Regions from separate parts of the Homo sapiens genome. Here regions 1 and 3 are each linked to region 2. Evidence: promoter capture Hi-C in 16 types of primary human blood cells and fetal thymus (Javierre and others, 2016). All regions are on one chromosome and are shown on one strand. The core of a region is centred on a gene start or on the middle of the fragment in contact, and the rest is flanking DNA. Distances in the headings are between cores, read along the strand shown.

Region 1 (3,628 bases), core at 204-2,703, 650 kb before region 2:
AGAAAACCAAGGAAAGAGGGGTTAATTAATTAGTCCAATCGCACAGTGACGAACTGGGATTTGAATCAGGCAATCTGGCTCCAGAGTAGACACTTGACACGATACATATCTTCTCCTAGTAACTAAGGATCTCTGATTTGAAACAAAACATTTAGAAACCAAGTATTATGTAGGGCTATTGCCACTACAACATACTACCTAATATAGATTCATAACAAGGGTTAGACCTCATTTTCCTATGGGTAAGTCAACTGATACATCACAGGGCAGGTCTATACAGCCACAGATCCCTGCCGTGTGCAAGGCAAAAAATTTCTACTATAGCCAGGTGTGTGGTTAAGAAAGTACGAGAACATACCTATATTCTCCCTCCCTCATGTTGCTGTCATAAGTTGTTTCTCATAACATCTTTCTAGAAACATTCTCAAGAAGTGCTAATTTATAGGAATTAGTTTAAGGCGCAGGCATTTATGAAATATAAGATATCTCGGCTCACATCCCCATAGCAGAACCTGCAAATGATCTTATTTATGCTAACTCTTTGACCCTGCCCAAGAGCTGATTCCGGAATTTCTATTGTAGTTTCGTTTTTACCTTTCATGAAGATTGTGTACAGGACATAGAAGCGGGGGAAATGACGACCCAAGAAACGATGGTATTTCCCATTAATCGCTTTTGTCTTGGTTACCACATAAGACATCAAGTTCTTCACATCTGCCTTTGGAGAAAGGTGAAGCTTTGAAGACCTACAAGGAAGATCAAAGAGACTATCTGGGAATCAGTCCTAGAAGCTCCCTCACGCCTTGAGTCCCTAATGTAAAGCAGGAGTCTCGGAGATTGTATCCCAAGGCTTGACACTTCTGAAATCCAAGGAAGGTCTTGGGGTCAAGAAGAGATAGGCAATCAGACTGTGAAACACAAATCAGGCAAAGGCCAGGCAGGAAAGTAACTCAGGGTATGCCTCTGGAGAGAGCGCAATGCCTGTGGGACAATTTGAACTGCAGGCTAAGTCAGAAAGAGGTGGAATCGAGATAGCAGCGGTAAAACCTGAGCCGAAAAAGTGAGGCTGAAAGATGAGCTCAGGACACGCGGGGAAACCAGACAATATGGGGCACTGAGAGTACAGAGGGTCAGGAAGCCGGGTCACTAGTGGGGATCGGAGTTTGAATCCTGAACAGAAGAATAAAAATTCCAGGGCCAAGGCGTGGAACTCTGAGAATTAAGAGACAGAATGCAAGCAAGGTTGAGACACTGAAAGAGCCTGGACGTCAAAAATGCTTTTCTCGCTACAGGTCCCTCACCGAGGGGCCCCCCAAGCCAGGCCAGAGCGACCAAGTTGCAGCCTCCGGGTGACAAAATGTCCAGGGGTGACTGCCGAGCCCCACACAGCCGACCGAGCCCAGCACACCCTGGAGAGCGCCATCTTCACAGCGAGAGAAGCGGGAGAGAAGAGGTTGTCTTTGGGTCAAAGTTAACCGTACGTCGCGTTCGTTCGAAGACGCATGCGTCTTTTCTGAGCGCTGATTGGTAGCCATAGCCTGCTTGGCTCCAGCACAAGCCAGGAGAGGGAAGGACTCAAAGACTAAGTGCGGAAGGAGGGCCAGGATTGGACACAGCAGTACTTCCAGGTTTAAAGGCGCCGGAAACAGGGTGTCCCAGAGGGAGCGAGTTCTTATGCCACTGGTGTGGGTTTGCGACGCGGAGGGCACCCTGTCCTTGAGGCGCCCAGTGACCCTCCGCGATTCCTTAGGGCCTCAGGGCTTCCCAGCGCCGCCCTTGCCCTCTGCCTGGACTCGGGGCGTCGGAGCCTCGACTGTTAGGTAGCAGATGTCAGTTTGCCAGTGCCTGGGGCTAGGAGGACCCGCGGCGCCCTCTAATGGTGCCGGCGTGGATAGGCCGGGAACTGTCCACTTTCCAGTCAGTCTGGCGGCGAAGGTTGGAGGCCTGGGAGCGGCCCCTGTGCGGACTGAGTACACTTTTTCCTCTCTTTGTCGTTTCCAGAACTAAGTTTGTGGGAAAATGGTTTTCGTTAAGCACCTACCGAAGACCAAGCTCTGTCTCAACTTAAATGTTACTATTCTGAGAGGATTTCTGTGACCACCCTATCTGAAGCAGTGCCGGCGAAAAGGACACACTTCACACTTATTCTCATGTTACTCTGTTTTGTTTTGTTTTGTTGTTTTGTTTTTGTGACAGTTTTGCTCTGTCGCCCCGGCTGGAGTGCAGTGGCGCGATCTTGGCTCACTGCAGCCTCCGCCTCCCGGGTTCAAGCGATTCTCCTGCCTCAGCCTCCCGAGTATCTGGGATTACAGGCGTCCGCCACCACGCCCGGCTAATTTTTGTATTTTTAGTAGAGACGGGATCTCACTATGTTGGTCAGGCTGGTCTTCAACTCCTGGCCTCAAGTGATCCGCCAGCCTTGGCCTCCCAAAGTGCTGGGATTACAGGCGTGAGCCACTGCACCCGGCCTTGTATTTTCTTTGTAGCATCTGTCACTTACAGTGTTTATGTATTTGTGTCCTTGTTTGACAGCTCCCTGAACTAGAATGAGGGTAAGCATCTTCTCTGCCTTGTTCATTGCTGCACCTCCAACACTAGGTGCCTTACTTAGCACATAGTAGGTGTTCAGTAAACATGTTTGAATAGATTCATACTTGAAACTAAGAAGGATTCCCAGAAGTGGTACTTAACTGCCTCCAAGAATTAACAGTCCTCTTGGATATATATGAATATTTATTCTTCATGGAAGGTGGTAGAGCATCCCATGTGGGTTCCCTGGATATAGGTTCAATCTTGGCATTGACGTTTGTTTTAGTGAATGTTACCTTGGATATGTCACTTTAGCTCTGAGTTTATTTCCCTTATAATAGTACCTACTTTATAAGAAATCTTTGAGGATCCAAAGAGAATACAGCTGTGAAAGCTCCCACATCTGTATAATGCTTTATGGGTCACAGAGCTTTATATTAGCACAGGTTATTAATGACTGTACCACTCGTGCAGTCAGAGGAAAAGTTTTAAAAGATGGCCCTGGATCTTCACAAGTGTTGGGTAGATGGGGTGGACGGGATAGAAAGTTGACTAAGACGGCTGGGCGCCGTGGCTCATGCCTGTAATCCCAGCACTTTGGGAGGCCGAAGCGGGCTGATTACCCGAGGTCAGGAGTTCGAGACCAGCCTGGACAACATGGTGAAACCTCATCTCTACTAAGAATACAAAAATTAGCCGGATGTGGTGGTGGGCGCCTGTAATCCCAGCTACTCGGGAGGCTGAGGCAGGAGAATCGCTTTAACCCAGGAGGCGGAGGTTGAGGTGAGCCAAGATCGCACCACTGCACTCCAGCCTGGGCAACAGAGTGAGACTGTCTCAAAAAAAAAAAAAAAAAAAAAAAAGTTGACTAAGACATGGTCTTCATATTCAGGTAGTTTTTTTTTTTGTTTTTTTTTTTTTTGGAGACAGAGTCTCACTCTGTCACCCAGGCTGGAGTGCAGTGGCGCAATTTCAGCTCACTGCAACCTTCATCTCCCGGATTCAAGTGATTCTCCTGCCTCAGCCTCCCAAGTAGCTGGGTTTACAGGCGCCCGCCACCATGCCCAGACAACTTTTGTATTCTTTTTTTTTTTTTTTG
Region 2 (3,226 bases), core at 235-2,734:
TGAGACAGAGTCTCACTCTGTTGTCCAGGCTGGAGTGTAGTGGTGCCATCTCAGCTCACTGCAACCTCTGCCTCCCAGGTTCAAGCGATTCTCCTACCTTAGCCTCCCGAGTAGCTAGGATTACAGGTGTGTGCCACCACCTCTGGCTAATTTTTGTATTTTTAGTAGAGATGGGGTTTCACCATGTTGGCCAGGCTGATCTCAAACTCCTGACCTCAGGTGATTTGCCACCCACCTCAGCCTCCCAAAGTGCTGGGATTACAGGCATGAGCCACTGCGCCCAGCTGCCTTACTTATCACTAAAATGGGGATACTAACACCTCATAGAGATATTGAGACTTAAGATGTACAGATATCTATATATGCAAAAACATCAAACGTTCCTGACACAAAGCACGATACAAGTATATACTACTACTGTTGTTATTGTTATATTGCTATTATCTATCCTACTGATTCTAGTGGGATAGTTAAGCTGGAATCTCTCCAGAAAAATACACATAAGTAAAAGGTATTGAACACAACTGCAGAGGACCCAGGGATCCCAGATTAACCCTGCCAAAGATGATCCACAAGCAAGTTGGTTTAGTAAAGCAGTTCTTAACCTCTTCTGTGACACAGACCTCTTTAGTAGTCCAATTAATCTATGGATCTCTTCTCCGTTTTTTTACATTTCTAAAATATATAGGATCACAAAGTAAACCAATTATATTGAAACGCAGTTATCAAAATATTTTAAAATGTCTAATATAGCAATACGTTAACAATATTTTTGACATATAGCAAGTAATGAGCATAAATATTTCAAGATAACTGCAAAAGCTGTAATACATGTAAAAAAGTGATTTGTCTTGGTGACAAGGTCACATACACTGTTGCTGCCATTAACATTTAAAGAATTTTCACTTCTTTTCCATTTAGATTTCAGTTAGAAGCTAGAGAAAATAAACACGCAAATTTTTTTCCTCAACCAAGCTTAGGTACTTACTTCCTCAATTCTATCCAAAAACCTAGATTAAGAACCTTTGACTTATGGGAAAGTACAAAAATAATTTTGAAGCCAGAAATTTATGTTCTAGAAGTCAGACTTCAGACTTTAGCCCCCACATTATTTACACTTGAATGACCTTAGACATCTAACTTCTGAGCTTTGGTTCTCTCACTGAGAATAATTCCTCTATCATGAGGTTACAGGGATCAAATATTAGTTAACAAAACGCCAAACGACCAACATGTTGTTTTTCACTGATTTTAATACCACATATTCAGCCCCAAATATTTAAAGACAGTTAATTTTCAATAAAACTCATATGAGAAAATGAAGAATGACATAGTGACTCACAAAGAAAATGATTAATGGAGATACAACTTTTAAACACTAGTTTGGCGAGAGATACGATAGAATTTGTCTAACCTGGGGAGTCGGACAGGCCTGAATTGCTAACATCCCGTCCATGATTTGACATCAGCATGACCTGGATCTAAATCCCAGTTAAACTACTTTACTTTTACTAAGTAAAGTTACTTTAACCTCTGGGGCTCGGTTTTGTCATCTGTAAAACATATTAAGTATCGCTTTAGAGACAGGAGAAGACCTAGTTTAAACAATAAATGGAGCTGTTATTAAAACTTACATTTTAATAAAGCCAAAGGAATCAATTTGGAAGTCAAAAGTATATTGTGGAGTTCCTGTCAATATAAACTTCACAATCTTTCTTCTGCCCAGCAAAACACACACTTAAAACCTGTGGTATTTACATAGCATAACATTCCTTAAAAAAACTGGCTGGCACTGGCTTAAAATCTTATCTGATTTCTTATTCTGCCTAAGGAAAACAACAATGAGGACAGAAAACAGTAAACAGAATGAGTTCAGTAATTTTAAGTCTTTTCATGATTTCCCCGGAATGTTCCAATGAATGTTTATTATGAATGTTAGATACACTCTAATGTAGCAGTCTTTTAAAAAACTAATTTAAAGATATCAAGCTTATCGGCGACACAATATCAGTTAGTTTAAAGAGAAAAAAAAACCGTAAAATCATTTATTTACTTTATGCTGGAATATTACGGAGTAAGATTTTCCCACAACCCGGAAAAAAAAATCTGCCATAGGCTGGCCCCGGCTCCTAGATTCATTATACAACCCGTAAATTCCTTCCCTCATTGAAAAGATTCTTCTTATGGGCATAGTTAACAAATGCCAAGTTGCGAAGTTGCAGCTTTGCTGGTTTGACGTTTTCACAATGTAAGAACAATATGATCTGGAATCTACTCAAAGCATTAGCCAGGCAGTCAGCTGACGCTCACTGCACACAAGAGGACAGAATTAAGGGAAATTAAATTTCGTATTTCTGTAAGGCAGGTATCCAACTCTATCTTGAAAACTAAAATAGGCCAACAGCAGACGTTCTAGTTTAAGTAATAAAAGTGTCTCATTGTTCAAATAACATTACAAAAAACGGCTTTTCCCGGAATAAGTTTCCCTCATTCTTGGAATTTTCCTTGTAAAGGGCTTTTAATCGGTTCATAGAACCAACCCTTCATCACGCAGCTGCTGCTTGAGTAACTTTTACAAAAGGTCAAAGCGGTGCCTTTCAAGGCTTCCAAACCCTACTGGCTTCTCCTCGATTCAAAGTAACTCGCTTTCACCCACAGAACGTTCCAGAGACCTAGGGACGGGGCCCGGGCAGAATTTGGTGGAAGTTGCTCAAAAGAACTTTTCAATTTTCTTTTCAAAATACTTACCGCATTTCACCTTTCTCCATCCGTGGCCCCACATGTTGCTCGCCTCCCTCCCAGAGGGGCCCCGCGAGGCCGCGCTCGGCCCCCGGAACGCGCCCACCTGATTACCCTCTCCTCCCTCAGACTCCGCCCCCCAACCCCCCAATGCTGCCTCCTTTAGGAGGTCCATATGGGACACTTTCCCCTTCCTCTGAACCTCACCGCCACACCAGAACAGCCCTCCGTTTTTCTCCTTCAATTCTTCTCCACTACGGGCCTCACCTCCCATAGCTTCCTAGAGTGTTGTGAGCGCGCAGAGGGAAGCTGCAGGCCTGCTCGGCCCAGGTGCTGTGTCAGCCTATCTGCCGGTTCCGCGGCGTGTACGGCCCGGAAAGTCACATGGCGGTGGGACCGGCCGGCGCCTCTACACTCCTGCTCTCCTAAGAGCAGGACGAGACTAGCATAATGCACTCACCTCCACGAAAAGCAACATGTCGTCCTC
Region 3 (3,244 bases), core at 264-2,763, 620 kb before region 2:
TTGTTTTTACTTCGCACTTTATTTGGATTTTTCTCTTTGCAGTTCACGCTCCTTTCCTCATTTCTTGGTCTCTCTTACTAATGAAATTTTCTCCTAGCTGTTTTTACGTGAATAAAGAAGCTCAATTACCTTTAATGCTGTAAGCAGTGCGAGGGGTCGGGGAGTGAGGGTGGCGGGAGGATCTAATGTTTTTGGTGGCTGTAAACGACATTGCAGAAAATTACGGTAATTTGTTAGGCCATTTATTCCCTCTTCACCAGTTTGGCAGTCTCATCTTCAGAGCAAAAGATACGGTGTGAGGCTGAAACTGGCGATAGAGTGGGATTGCTTTTGGGTAGGTAGGATGAAGTCTGGGGAGAATCGAGTCAGCTGGGCGAGGAGGAAAACAATTCACTACGGAGGCTTGGGAGGACACCTAAGGCGGTCAAACTGGCTGCACTAGCTGATGTTTCTCGGTTCCTCCCAGGTGTGGGGTGCTCTTGGTGGGGCAGCAGATACTATGATGTGGCTCTGGGGGCGCGAGGAAATGTTCCTTCCAGGTGGCTATCCTTTTTTTTTGAGACAGGGTTTTGCTCTGCCACCCAGGCTGGAGTGCAGTGGCACGATCTTGTCTCACCGCAGCCTCCACCTCCCAGGCCCAAGTGATTCTCCCACCTCAGCCCCCGAGTAGCTGGGACCACAGGCGGGCGCCGTGATGCCTGGCTAATTTTTTTTTTTTTTTAGACGGAGTTTTCGCTCTTGTTTCCAAGGCTGGAGTGCAATGGCGCGATCTCGGCTCACTGCACCTCCGCCTCCCGGGTTCAAGCGATTCTCTTGCCTCAGCCTCCCGAGTAGCTGGGATTACAGGCATGCGCCACCACGCCCGGCTAATTTTGTATTTTTAGTAAAGACGGGGTTTCTCCATGTTGGTCAGGCTGGTCTCAAACTCCCGATCTCAGGTGATTCGCCCGCCTGGGCCCTCCAAAGTGCTGGGAGTACAGGCGTGAGCCACCGCGCCCGGCCTTTGCTTGGCTAATTTTAAAATTTTTTGTAGAGACCGGGTCTCACTATGTTGCCCAGGCTGGTATCGAACTCCTGGACTCAAGTGATCCTCCCGCCTCGGTCTCCCAAAGTGCTGGGCATTACAAGTGTGAGCCTCCGCGCCTGGCCTGGCTACCCTTTACAGGATAGAGCTATACCTCGTAGCTTGATTGTCAGTACCTAACGTGGCGCCACGGCGAACTAGGGCAGGAATCTTATCTGTCCCCAGACTGCTAGCGGACTGGAGCTCCCCAGTCCAGGGGCTGTGTGGGTCTGGCCAACGCAAGCAGCAACTAGGCAGCATGCAGCTCCCGCCGGGTGCCCCAGGGGCCGCCGCGTGCCCCAGGGGCCGCCGCATCCAGACTCCGCGTGGGCGGAGCCTAGGTCCCTGGTCTGCGGGCCACGCATCCCGGCCGCTGCAGGGACTCCAGCCAATAGGGATGTGCGGCTGCCGTCCTGTCGACCAATCGCGGGGAGGGGAGGGCGTTAGCCAGCGTGGCGCTGGCTCCCGGAATATGGAGCCCTGGGCGCGGGGGCGGCGTGTCAGGTGGTTGCGGAGCTGGTAAGGTGAGGGGAAGGCAAGGTCAGGGGTCACGGCATTCCGCTCGCTGGCAGGGAGGGGCGCGGGGCGGCTCGAGGGCCTGTGTCGGGGGTCAGGCTCCGGGGCTAGGATGCGACACCGGCTCGCCGTGCGGGGCTGTGAGGGGAGGTGTGGCCAGGGAGGGCCTCAGGCCCAGAGTCCAGGACTGATGGAGTCGCGCCATTCAGAGAAAGACCCAAAGATGGGGGCAGGGAGGGAACGCCGGAGGTCGCGGGGGTCTCGCCCCTTCCCCGCCGCGGCCTAGGACACATGGCCCAGCTCCCAGCTGCACCGGATGGCGCGCCCGGCCTGTGTCGGGGTGCGCTGACCTGCTTCGACGCCTCGAAAGAGGCCGACGGGCACAGGGCAAGGTCTTTCGTGGCCTCTTCGTCGGCGCCGCAGGGGGCCGGGCTGCTCTCCGGGGCCTCCCGCCGCCCCGCTTCAACAAAAGACTCATTATAACCTAACCGACTTCAGGGAGCGCCTTCTGTGTGAATAGCCTGCATACGCGGCTCAGTAATTGTGGGTAGATTGGTTTTAAGGCTGTTTGTGTAGCTCTCAGGGACCCTCTGGATTCCAGGCTCCAATGAGCAGGGTTTTTCTACAGGGGGATATTGCACATATGTAAGTGGGCTGGATGGCTCTCCCAGCTGTGCGTTTCATGTGTCCCCACTTTTAAAGCTACCGCTTAAATGTGACATCTCTTGCAAAAGCAAAAATTATATGGAAGGAGAGTTTGCAAGGGGAGATAGGCTTCTAAAAACTTGCTGGCCTCAATTTTAGTGACTGTTGGTGAAAAATGGAGAAGCTATGTTTACACTGACTTCTGGAACCCGAAGCCCCACCAGTTCGCATGATTTCTTGGCTTTGTAAATCTTTGAGCATGTTGTTTGCCTCTTTCTTCTTTTGTTCCACGTACTTAAAATGGGGATTGATAATATCAGTCTTACAGGGTTGTTGGTATGAAATTAGTTAATAAACAACAAAGTACTTAGAACTCTTGATGTGGAGGAGTTTTTGTTGTTGTTACCTTCTTTCCCCTTAACACTTCTAAAGAATTCTAACCTTATTACTTATTCTTTGCTCAGAGTCTCATGACTTATCACCAGTGAACCCGCCGGCCTATACTTTCCATTGACATCATTAACTTTGATCTGAGGGTATAGTGTAGTTATATGTGACTAGAGGATTTCTGCTGCGTGTTTGTTTTATTAAATACGGTTGGAAACTATCATTATACTAGGTCATTTATTGTGATACCTGTGTTGGGTAAATGAAACCTGAAACCTTCGGCTGTTTATTTTTTCATTGGACAGTATTTCATTGACAGTCTTGCTTGGCCTACTCAGTTTATTTTGGAGCCAGTACTAAAAAGGCCATGATTGCAGCATACTTGGTTTCTCATGTTTCCGGAATGGCAGTGGGACTCGGGAGGGGAATTTCTGGGTAGCCTGGCAGCACTTCTTGTTAAGGAATGGGGAAGCTTCTTATGAATCTAATCTTACTCTAATGTTAGGAAATCAGCAGTGGTCCCTTGGATTACTCTACAAAGCTAGTAGGCAGCTTTGGTTCAGTTATGACTCAGTGAAGGTTAGAGAATTATATCTACAAAGTAGGATCTTTTTCTTTCTTTCTTTCGTTTTT

The links. Contacts are between HindIII fragments. The CHiCAGO score rates a contact against its expected background, and 5 or more counts as called.
Region 1: the fragment with the promoter of LETMD1 here is called in contact with a fragment that was not itself captured in region 2 in 1 of 17 cell types (erythroblasts); the score reaches 5.3 in erythroblasts.
Region 3: the fragment with the promoter of SLC11A2 here is called in contact with a fragment that was not itself captured in region 2 in 2 of 17 cell types (erythroblasts and megakaryocytes); the score reaches 9.1 in erythroblasts.

Annotation. Positions count from the first base shown.
Region 1 is chr12:51,046,152-51,049,779 of GRCh38, reverse strand. It overlaps LETMD1 (LETM1 domain containing 1), which reads right to left and starts at 1,453. Exons shown (of 9, transcript NM_015416.5): 1 at 1,302-1,453; 2 at 595-746. The coding sequence starts at 1,423. RefSeq lists enhancers at 670-1,208, 1,409-1,458, 1,209-1,747, 1,569-1,838, 1,929-2,008 and 1 more. The HindIII fragment of the contact is 4,204 bases long and covers 739-3,628 here.
Region 2 is chr12:50,401,002-50,404,227 of GRCh38, reverse strand. It overlaps LARP4 (La ribonucleoprotein 4), which reads right to left. Exons shown (of 16, transcript NM_052879.5): 1 at 3,200-3,226. The coding sequence starts at 3,217. Among named protein-coding and RNA genes, the nearest start is that of LARP4, 1.7 kb to the right of the region's middle. The HindIII fragment of the contact is 1,014 bases long and covers 978-1,991 here.
Region 3 is chr12:51,024,653-51,027,896 of GRCh38, reverse strand. SLC11A2 (solute carrier family 11 member 2) reads left to right here and starts at 1,513. Exons shown (of 16, transcript NM_000617.3): 1 at 1,513-1,587. RefSeq lists silencers at 1,133-1,852, 1,863-1,922 and enhancers at 1,328-1,939, 1,940-2,553. The HindIII fragment of the contact is 11,669 bases long and covers 1-3,085 here.